Linked DNA regions of Homo sapiens: region 1 is linked to region 2. Evidence: promoter capture Hi-C in 16 types of primary human blood cells and fetal thymus (Javierre and others, 2016). All regions are on one chromosome and are shown on one strand. The core of a region is centred on a gene start or on the middle of the fragment in contact, and the rest is flanking DNA. Distances in the headings are between cores, read along the strand shown. Region 1 holds the start of UBAP2L (ubiquitin associated protein 2 like). Region 2 holds the start of HCN3 (hyperpolarization activated cyclic nucleotide gated potassium channel 3).

Evidence for each region. The method cuts DNA at HindIII sites, captures the fragments that hold promoters and counts their contacts. A CHiCAGO score of 5 or more calls a contact.
Region 1: a contact is called between the fragment with the promoter of UBAP2L here and the fragment with the promoter of HCN3 in region 2, in 1 of 17 cell types (neutrophils). The highest score is 5.3, in neutrophils.

What each region holds. Positions count from the first base shown.
Region 1 is chr1:154,218,812-154,222,688 of GRCh38, forward strand. UBAP2L (ubiquitin associated protein 2 like) reads left to right here and starts at 2,144. Exons shown (of 27, transcript NM_014847.4): 1 at 2,144-2,164. LTAP1 (lipid transport auxiliary protein 1) reads right to left here and starts at 1,779. Exons shown (of 7, transcript NM_001098616.3): 1 at 1,531-1,779; 2 at 1,025-1,126. The coding sequence starts at 1,596. RefSeq lists enhancers at 1,152-1,899, 1,478-1,917, 1,900-2,647 and silencers at 1,238-1,307, 2,168-2,317. The HindIII fragment of the contact is 10,463 bases long and covers 1-3,877 here.
Region 2 is chr1:155,274,915-155,278,789 of GRCh38, forward strand. It overlaps HCN3 (hyperpolarization activated cyclic nucleotide gated potassium channel 3), which reads left to right and starts at 2,549. Exons shown (of 8, transcript NM_020897.3): 1 at 2,549-2,954. The coding sequence starts at 2,677. The HindIII fragment of the contact is 9,883 bases long and covers 1,667-3,875 here.

The sequences.
Region 1 (3,877 bases), core at 894-3,393, 1.1 Mb before region 2:
AACAAATGGACAAACATAAAAATTATGGTAAATGCTATGAAGGAAAAATCAGGGTACCATGTGAAAATAAAGAGAGGGGGAACCTACTTTAAAATAGGTAATAAGCATTCCTTTTTTGGAAGTAACATTTAAGCTAAGATCAAAAGAATGAATGAGCTAGCCAATTGAAGACCATTCCAGATCACAGGAGCAAAAAGGGTGGAAAATTCAGCCAGTGGAGCTGGGTCCCAGTGATCTGGGGAGAGCCACACAAAAGGGGGTTGGTAAGGGAAGCAGGTGTCTTTTACTTAGAAGCGAAAGACTAAAGAAGCAGAATGAGAGTGGCAGTGGGATAGCAATAATTCTGATTCACAAATGTTGGGTTTGAGATGTCTACTACAAATCTAAGTGGAAATGTCAGGTAATCAGTTGGCAATATATGTAAGGAACTCAGGAAAGAGTTCTAGGATAGAGATAAAATTTCATCTGTAGCTAAAGCCAAGGAAAGGAAGACAGTCACCTAAGGAGAAAGTACAGACAAAGATAAAAGACCACTGGGTTATTCACTTCCTATACGTCTTCTGGTAAACTGCCTCCTTTTCTTGGGCTTCTTGGTAACATGAATGGTGGAATTAGATGATTTATGGAGCTCCTCTTAAGTCTAAAATTATGTAAAGGTAACCCTTCTCATTGCTCTTGGGTTAACCTTAATGATCTCAACCCCATCCTAATCAAACAAAAAACACTGGGTAGTTTAAGATGAGCTGGGAAATATTTTACTACAAACAGTTGGGAACTTCGACCCAAGCCCTTCATTCTGCAGATACAAAAACAGAAGTTCCAGGATGAGCCACATGCTTGCCACAGCACTGAGCAGGTAAGCCAAGTTCCAAAGCGCACAGTGCCTGCTCAACTTAGTAAGTACAAGGACAAGTGCACGCAAAGAAACATGAGAATTAAAGTCATCACTAAAGGCAGAGGAAATCTCATTCTTGACCCTAAAAGATCTGGAGAAGTATGTTTAACTTGTGCCCTAAGGACCTACCTTGGGGGCATTGTGTCCCACAGGGACATGAGGTCCCCTTCGAGATTTCATTGCAAAGCGCATGATTTGCCTCTTCACAAAAATAAATAGCAGTACAAACACCTGTCCAAAAAGATGTAAAAATCCTTTAATAAAAAGTCAGTTTTGTTTTGTTTTTTTTTTAAAAAAGCATGCCTTCATTCCAAATCCCCAGATTCCGGCTCTCAGGAATGTTTCAGGGTAAAACTTGGGGCAAAGCAAGGCCGTTATGATGGGGGTGGATCTAAGAAGCCAGCAGCAGGGAGGCGTGGGGTCTGTGCTCTAGCGTTAAAGGGAGGGTTCTAGACTAACGAGGGCGGGTCGGCCCGACTAAGTGACTTAAACTCCCACCTACTCCTGGAATAAGGAGTCAAAGCCCGGATAGGCGCAGGTGAGTGGGTGGAGAATGCAGACGGGGTACAGCTCAAAAGGAGGGTCTCTACTGGGTAAGATGCGACAGCAGGAATGGGGTGGGGTAATCTCCTCACCAGGCTCCCGTAGGCCATCACCAGCACGACATTCACCCCGGAGAGCCAGTTACTGCCGGACGCCATGGCCTCCCTACCTCGCGCAGAATTGTTCGGGTTTACCCCGCTGTCCTGGCTGGTCAGCCCAGGCTCCGCCGAAGCGACGGCGCCTGGGTCCCCTGGAGCTCCCCGGCCATTTCCTTACGGGGGAAGACCAAGCCAGACCCGGCCTGAAAACATGGCGGACAGGCAGGAGAGCTGGGAAAGGAGAACGACGCCTTCCAGCTTCCCCCTGACACGTGACTCAGGCAGGCAATGGCACCCAGGAGCGTCGAGCGCTCAGACGCGGAACTACGACAGTAAGAGGAAGCGGCGGCCATCCGTGCGTCACGTGGTGGAGGCAGGGCCGCCGTGAAGGAGGCGGGGTGGACTCGCGGAGCCGGAAAGAGGTGTCTCGTGGCGAGGCGGCACGCGCACGCTTGCGTGCGCGCCCCTTTTAGCGTCACGCGCTGAGGGACGCAGGAAGGCAAGTGGGCGGGGGAAGGCGCGAGAGCGAGCGCGAGAGGGAAAAGGAGGGAGGGGGTGGGGAAGAGGGAATCTTATATCACGTGACAGGGGCGGCGCGGCCCGGGGTGTCAGTGTGGAGGAGACTGAGGTAAAGTTGGGAGCGCAGCGGCGTTGGCGGCGGCGGCGGCGGCAGCGGCAGCGCGGCGGGGCCGGGTATTGTCCGCGGCCCCTTTAAATCCGCGATCCCCCTTTTACCCTCCCTCTTTTCTCCCCTGCCCCCGCCGTATCCCCTCCCTCGGTAGGCCCCCCCACACCGTGTGTTCCCCCACTGTACACCCCCCCCCGAGTCATGCGAGCCCTGGCGCCCCCCACCTCGAGTCGGCCCCCGGAGGTTTTGTTTATGGTTGGGTTCGCGGCCTAGTGGGCCGCGCCAGAGCCGGGGCCTCGATTTGGGAGCGTGGCCGGGGCGGGGCTTGGAGCAGCCGTAGGAAGGGGGGGCCATGCGGCTAGAGCCTGAGAGGGGAGAGCGAGAAAGAGCGCGAGCGAGCGAGGCCTGGGCCTTGCCTGAGGTAGGGCTCTCTCTTCACCCCGGCCGGTGCCTGCGGAGGAGAGGGCCTCCTCCCTTTCCACCCACTGCGGGCCTCCTCTGATCCGGATCCGGCCTGGTTTGGGGGTGGCGTGGGGGAGGGAGGGCGATGGGGTGGAGCTCCCCCAAACTCCCCCATGTGGCCCTCAGTTTGGTGTGCGAAGGATTAATTTGTTCCGGCTGGGAGGTAGGGAGGAGATTGGCCCCGTGGGCTCTCGATGTGGCGCTGAGGGGGGTGAGCCTCCCATCCTCCACCCGTGGGCTTGCGTCCCCTCTCCGTTTCCAGGCTCTTTGTCAGCTCCTCTTATTACCCTCCCTTCTTTCTCACCAACCCAGTTCTTGGAATATGTTTTTGCTGCTGTCTTTAGCTTCCTGTTTATACTGTAGTTTGGGTACCCCAAACAATTGTGTTATTTGGGAAGCTGGACATGGAGGCCCCCATAGGGTGTATTTACGCTTAAGGGACGTCACTAGAGCACTGGGGTATTTGTTCACTCTTCTCATAATGGTACAGGAATGCCCAGTTTCTTCAAACCCTTAACCTTGTGGACAGCCCTTAAATTGCTTTGCAAACTGATGTCACAAACTGGAGACTGCTCCTTTTCCACCATTCTTGAAATGTAGCCACCTCTGGTGTAGGATGTTGTGGAAAGAAAAACACCACAGTAACAGGCGTTTTTGTTATTATTGTTAACGTTTTTGCCTTTGACTCTCCCTGATTATTAAATGGAGAAATCCTTTTTTTTTGTCTTCTCTCCCATCCTACCTTCCTCCGCCGCATATCCTGTTTTGGGGATACCTGATGTGACTTGCTGGGAGGTGATGGACATTACTAGTAACCAGCGTTTCTAGAGAATTAAAACATTTTGGCTGTGTATCAGTTGATAAAACTGCTTTGAGATCTGTCTCCATTGTACTTAAAGATTAGACTATCCCAATGATTACAGAGAATTAAAACATTTTGGCTGTGTATCAGTTGATAAAACTGCTTTGAGATCTGACACCATTGTCCTTAAAGATTAGACTATCTCAATGATTGTTTCCTTTGTGAATGGGAAATATTGCTGGCACATAAACTAGTGATGAAAGGCCTAAAAATGTCCTGTTTTGTTTTTCATCTTTAAAGCTCCTCCTTGCTATGTCCTAACTGGGAAGTACTCTTACTAACTAGATATCAAGGTGGTGGGGAAGGGGATGCAGGGGCCATTTCAACAAAGCATCTACAGAAATTAGTTGTTCTGTTAGAGGTAGCAAATTTTACCCAACTCAGTCTAG
Region 2 (3,875 bases), core at 1,299-3,798:
CGTGAACCCCAGGGGGCGGAGCCTGCAGTGAGCCGAGATTGCGCCACTGCACTCCAGCCTGGGCGACAGCGAGACTCCGTCTCAAAAAAAAAAAAAAAAAAAAAAAAAAAAATACAAAAATTAGGCCAAGCGCGGTGGCTCATGCCTGTAATCCCAACAGTTTTGGAGGCCCAGGAAGGTGGATCACTTGAGCACAGGAGTTCGAGACCAGCCTGGCCAACCTGGTGAAACCCTGTCTCTACTAAAAATACAAAAATTAGCCGGGTGTGATGGCAGGTGCCTGTAATCCCAGCTATTTGGAAGGCTGAGGCACGAGAATCGCTTGAATCCAGAAGGTGGAGGTTGCAGTGAGCCGAGATGGTGCCATTGCACTCCAGCCTGGGCGACAGAGTGAGACTGTGTCTAAAATAAAATAAAATAAAAAATAAAAATTAGCCATTCATGGTGTCTCCCACCTGTAGTCCCAGCTACTCGGGAGGCTGAGGTGGGAGGATCACCTGAGCCTGGGGAGGTTGAGGCTGTAGTGACCCGTGATCGTGCCACTGCACTCCAGCTTGGGCGACAGAGTGAGACTCTATCTCAAAAAAAAAAAAAAAAAAAAAAGAAAAGAAAAGAAAAAAAGAAAATGAGAAAGAGAAAGAGTTAGAGACTTTACAGAAGGAATTGAGAAGTGGTCAGAAAGGTCAATTGAAAGAGAAATAATATAATCTGAGAATAACGATATTAAAGTCAGGGAGCTGAGCAAGGTGGCTCACACCTGTAGTCCCAGCTACTCAGGAAACTGAGGTGGGAAGATTGCTTTGAGGCTGCAGTGGGTCATGATCACACCACTGCACTCCAGCTTGAGCAACAGAGCAAGACCCTGACTCTAGAATGAGTAAATAAATAAAGTCAGGAAATATTAGAGAGGAGCTGGATGAAGGATGGTCAGATGGAGGTTAGATCAGATAACCAGACATAGTTTAGAGAAGTTCCCTGGAATAGAACATGGAGAGCAATCAATGAAGGAGTCGGGGAGAGAGAAGTAAAGATTTCACTTCCACCTCCTGGAACATTTTCCTAGATTATTAATTCATTCAACAAGCATTTACTGAATGTCCACTATGTGTCCAGAATTATGCCAGGTGCAAGGTTCCTGTTTCTCAGAGTTTCACAATCTAACAGGAGAGAAAATCTGTAAATAAATAATGAGACCATGCTCATGCCTGTAATCCTAGCACTTTGGGAAGCCAAGGCAGGAAGATCACTTGAGCTCTGAGTTCAAAACCAGCCTGGGCAACATAGTGTGACCTCATCTCTAAAATAATAATAATAATGGTAGCCCTGTGACATGAGTTGCTCAAAACAGTGGTGCCCTGGCTGCTGTAAAAAAGCTCTAGAATAGACCCTACCTGAGGAAAGGAGAGTTGGAAATGTGTTCCTAGGTTTCCTAGAGAAAGCAAGATCTGAACCAACTGTTCGAAAGTGAATTGGAGGAGAATACCAGGCAGAGAAAATATTTGCAAAAGCATAGAGACAAGGCAGCACAAAGTCTTTCAGCATGATTGGGGCTGTGGCTTTCAAGAGAGGGACTGTCAGAAGAGAGACTGTTGAAACTAGGTCCAAATTTTTTGGGCCTGGTACACCATGCTAAGCAGCTTAAATGTACCCCTGTAGAAGATGGGAAAGCTTGATGGGCTTCAAGCAAGTGACACAGCCATAGTTGGATTTTAGGAAGGTAACTGGCAGGGAATGGAAGAAGAATTGGCCTGGAAGAGGTTGAAGACTCTTTTAGAGGTTTCCGAAGTAATTTAAGTGAAAAAATGCTGAGGGCTTGAAATGAGGCAGTGGTAATAAGAATTGGAGATGAAGGGGAGAATTTGAGATATTTAGGAATTTGTAGCACTTCGCATAGCACTGCAATTTACCTGTCTGTCGTTGGGCACAGATGAGCAGTGGCTTTATGGCTAGGCCTTTGTTTTTGTTTTGTTTTGTGTTGTTTTCCATTACTACATGGAGATGCTAAGACTAGGACTTTTGTATTCATTTTTGTTTCCTCAGCATCCACTCAATGACAGGCAGAGTTGCACTTGGTGAAGGCTGACAGAATGAATTAGGAAATTAAATACTAGGGGAAGCAGTTCGGAGGAGACCAAAAGACAAGAATATGCCTAGGACAGTGTTGAGAGAAGACGGGAGCAGGACAGAAGTCCCTGGGCGAGAGTGGAGAAGAATCCCAAAAGCCATTTCCACTTCTTCCATTGGTCCCCAATCCCTCTCCCTCCCAAGTCCTTCAAGCTACAAACCCGCGTCCGATTTTCCCGCCACTGCAGGGGGCTCCTCCTCCCTGGTTCTCAGTGGATGAAAGGCCAACGCTAGGCCACGCCCTCTCCCTGGCTCAGGCTGCGCTCCCCGCCTTCTTTGCTAAGCCACGCCCCTCTCGGAGTTCCTCCAGGATCCCGGCGTCCCAGCCCCGCCCGGTCTTGGCGCGGCCCTCGCCAGGGGGCGCCGCGCAGCCCGCCCGCCGCCCGCCAGTCTAGCACACACCCCCTCCGCCCCGCGCGCCGGCGATTCCGAGCCTACGACGCCTCCGCTAGAGCCCGCGGGGCTGCGCCGACTCCTGCTCTGGAGGGGTTGCGGGTACCTGATGGCCACAGAGGGCTCTAGGAGGCCGAGCGTGTAAGCGGGGTGGGCGCCATGGAGGCAGAGCAGCGGCCGGCGGCGGGGGCCAGCGAAGGGGCGACCCCTGGACTGGAGGCGGTGCCTCCCGTTGCTCCCCCGCCTGCGACCGCGGCCTCAGGTCCGATCCCCAAATCTGGGCCTGAGCCTAAGAGGAGGCACCTTGGGACGCTGCTCCAGCCTACGGTCAACAAGTTCTCCCTTCGGGTGTTCGGCAGCCACAAAGCAGTGGAAATCGAGCAGGAGCGGGTGAAGTCAGCGGGGGCCTGGATCATCCACCCCTACAGCGACTTCCGGTATTGGGGGCTTGGCGGGGAGGGCAGGGTACATCAATCCCACCCTCGCGGGCAGCGACACCGGGACCCGGCCCGCCCCACCCTCCACGGTCACTTCATTTCCAGCCCGGGGTCCCTTGGTGGGGCGGGAGAGTCACTTGCACCAGTCTAGCCTGGGAATTCCTGGGCGGGTATCCCCTGCCGGAGGTCCTCCGTGCCTGGACAGGCTGGGGGCACCAGAAGGGGCAAGCAGACATCAGGGGATCTCCAGAGACCTGGATTTCCTCTTTCAGGAACCCGGGACCCCATCCGGACCAAAGGAACTACCAGAGTTTGGGACCCCTGCCTCCTCCAGTCCTGCTTGCTGGAGATCTAGGAAATTATATTCTAAGTATCGGGGCCAGTCTGAGGGAGAAGCCGAGCTCCGCCATCTCCCATCCCCACACCCGCTCCTTAGCACCTGCCTAGTTCAGCATGACAGACTACCAGGAAAAATAGGGACGCTGAAGGGGGCGGGGGGTCCAGACCTCAGCTCTGGTCGCTGTCCCTAGTGCTGAAGGCGGGGGCGGCGGGGCGGGGCCGAGACTCAGAGTGACTGAGGCGGCAAAGCAGGGGCAGGACCACCACCCAGGTGACTCCCAGAGAAGGAACAGAGGGTGGGGGTGGGGCCATTTCACAGTCTCCGTCAGGGTGTACCTCTACATCAAGGTCGCTAGGGGAAGACAGCAGCCCTGTCCTTGGGGGAAATGAAGGACAGCTCTTGGATGAGGCAGGGATGTGTGCAAAGCACCTAACCTGGGGAACTAAAGAAGCAGAGAGGAAGAGGTGTGAATCTGGAGCCTCGAAATACAGTTGTAGACCCAGACATTATCTTGAATCCACATATATACACACTCCCTCTATGTCTCTCTTCCTCCCATTGTTCCTTTCACTCCTGTCTTT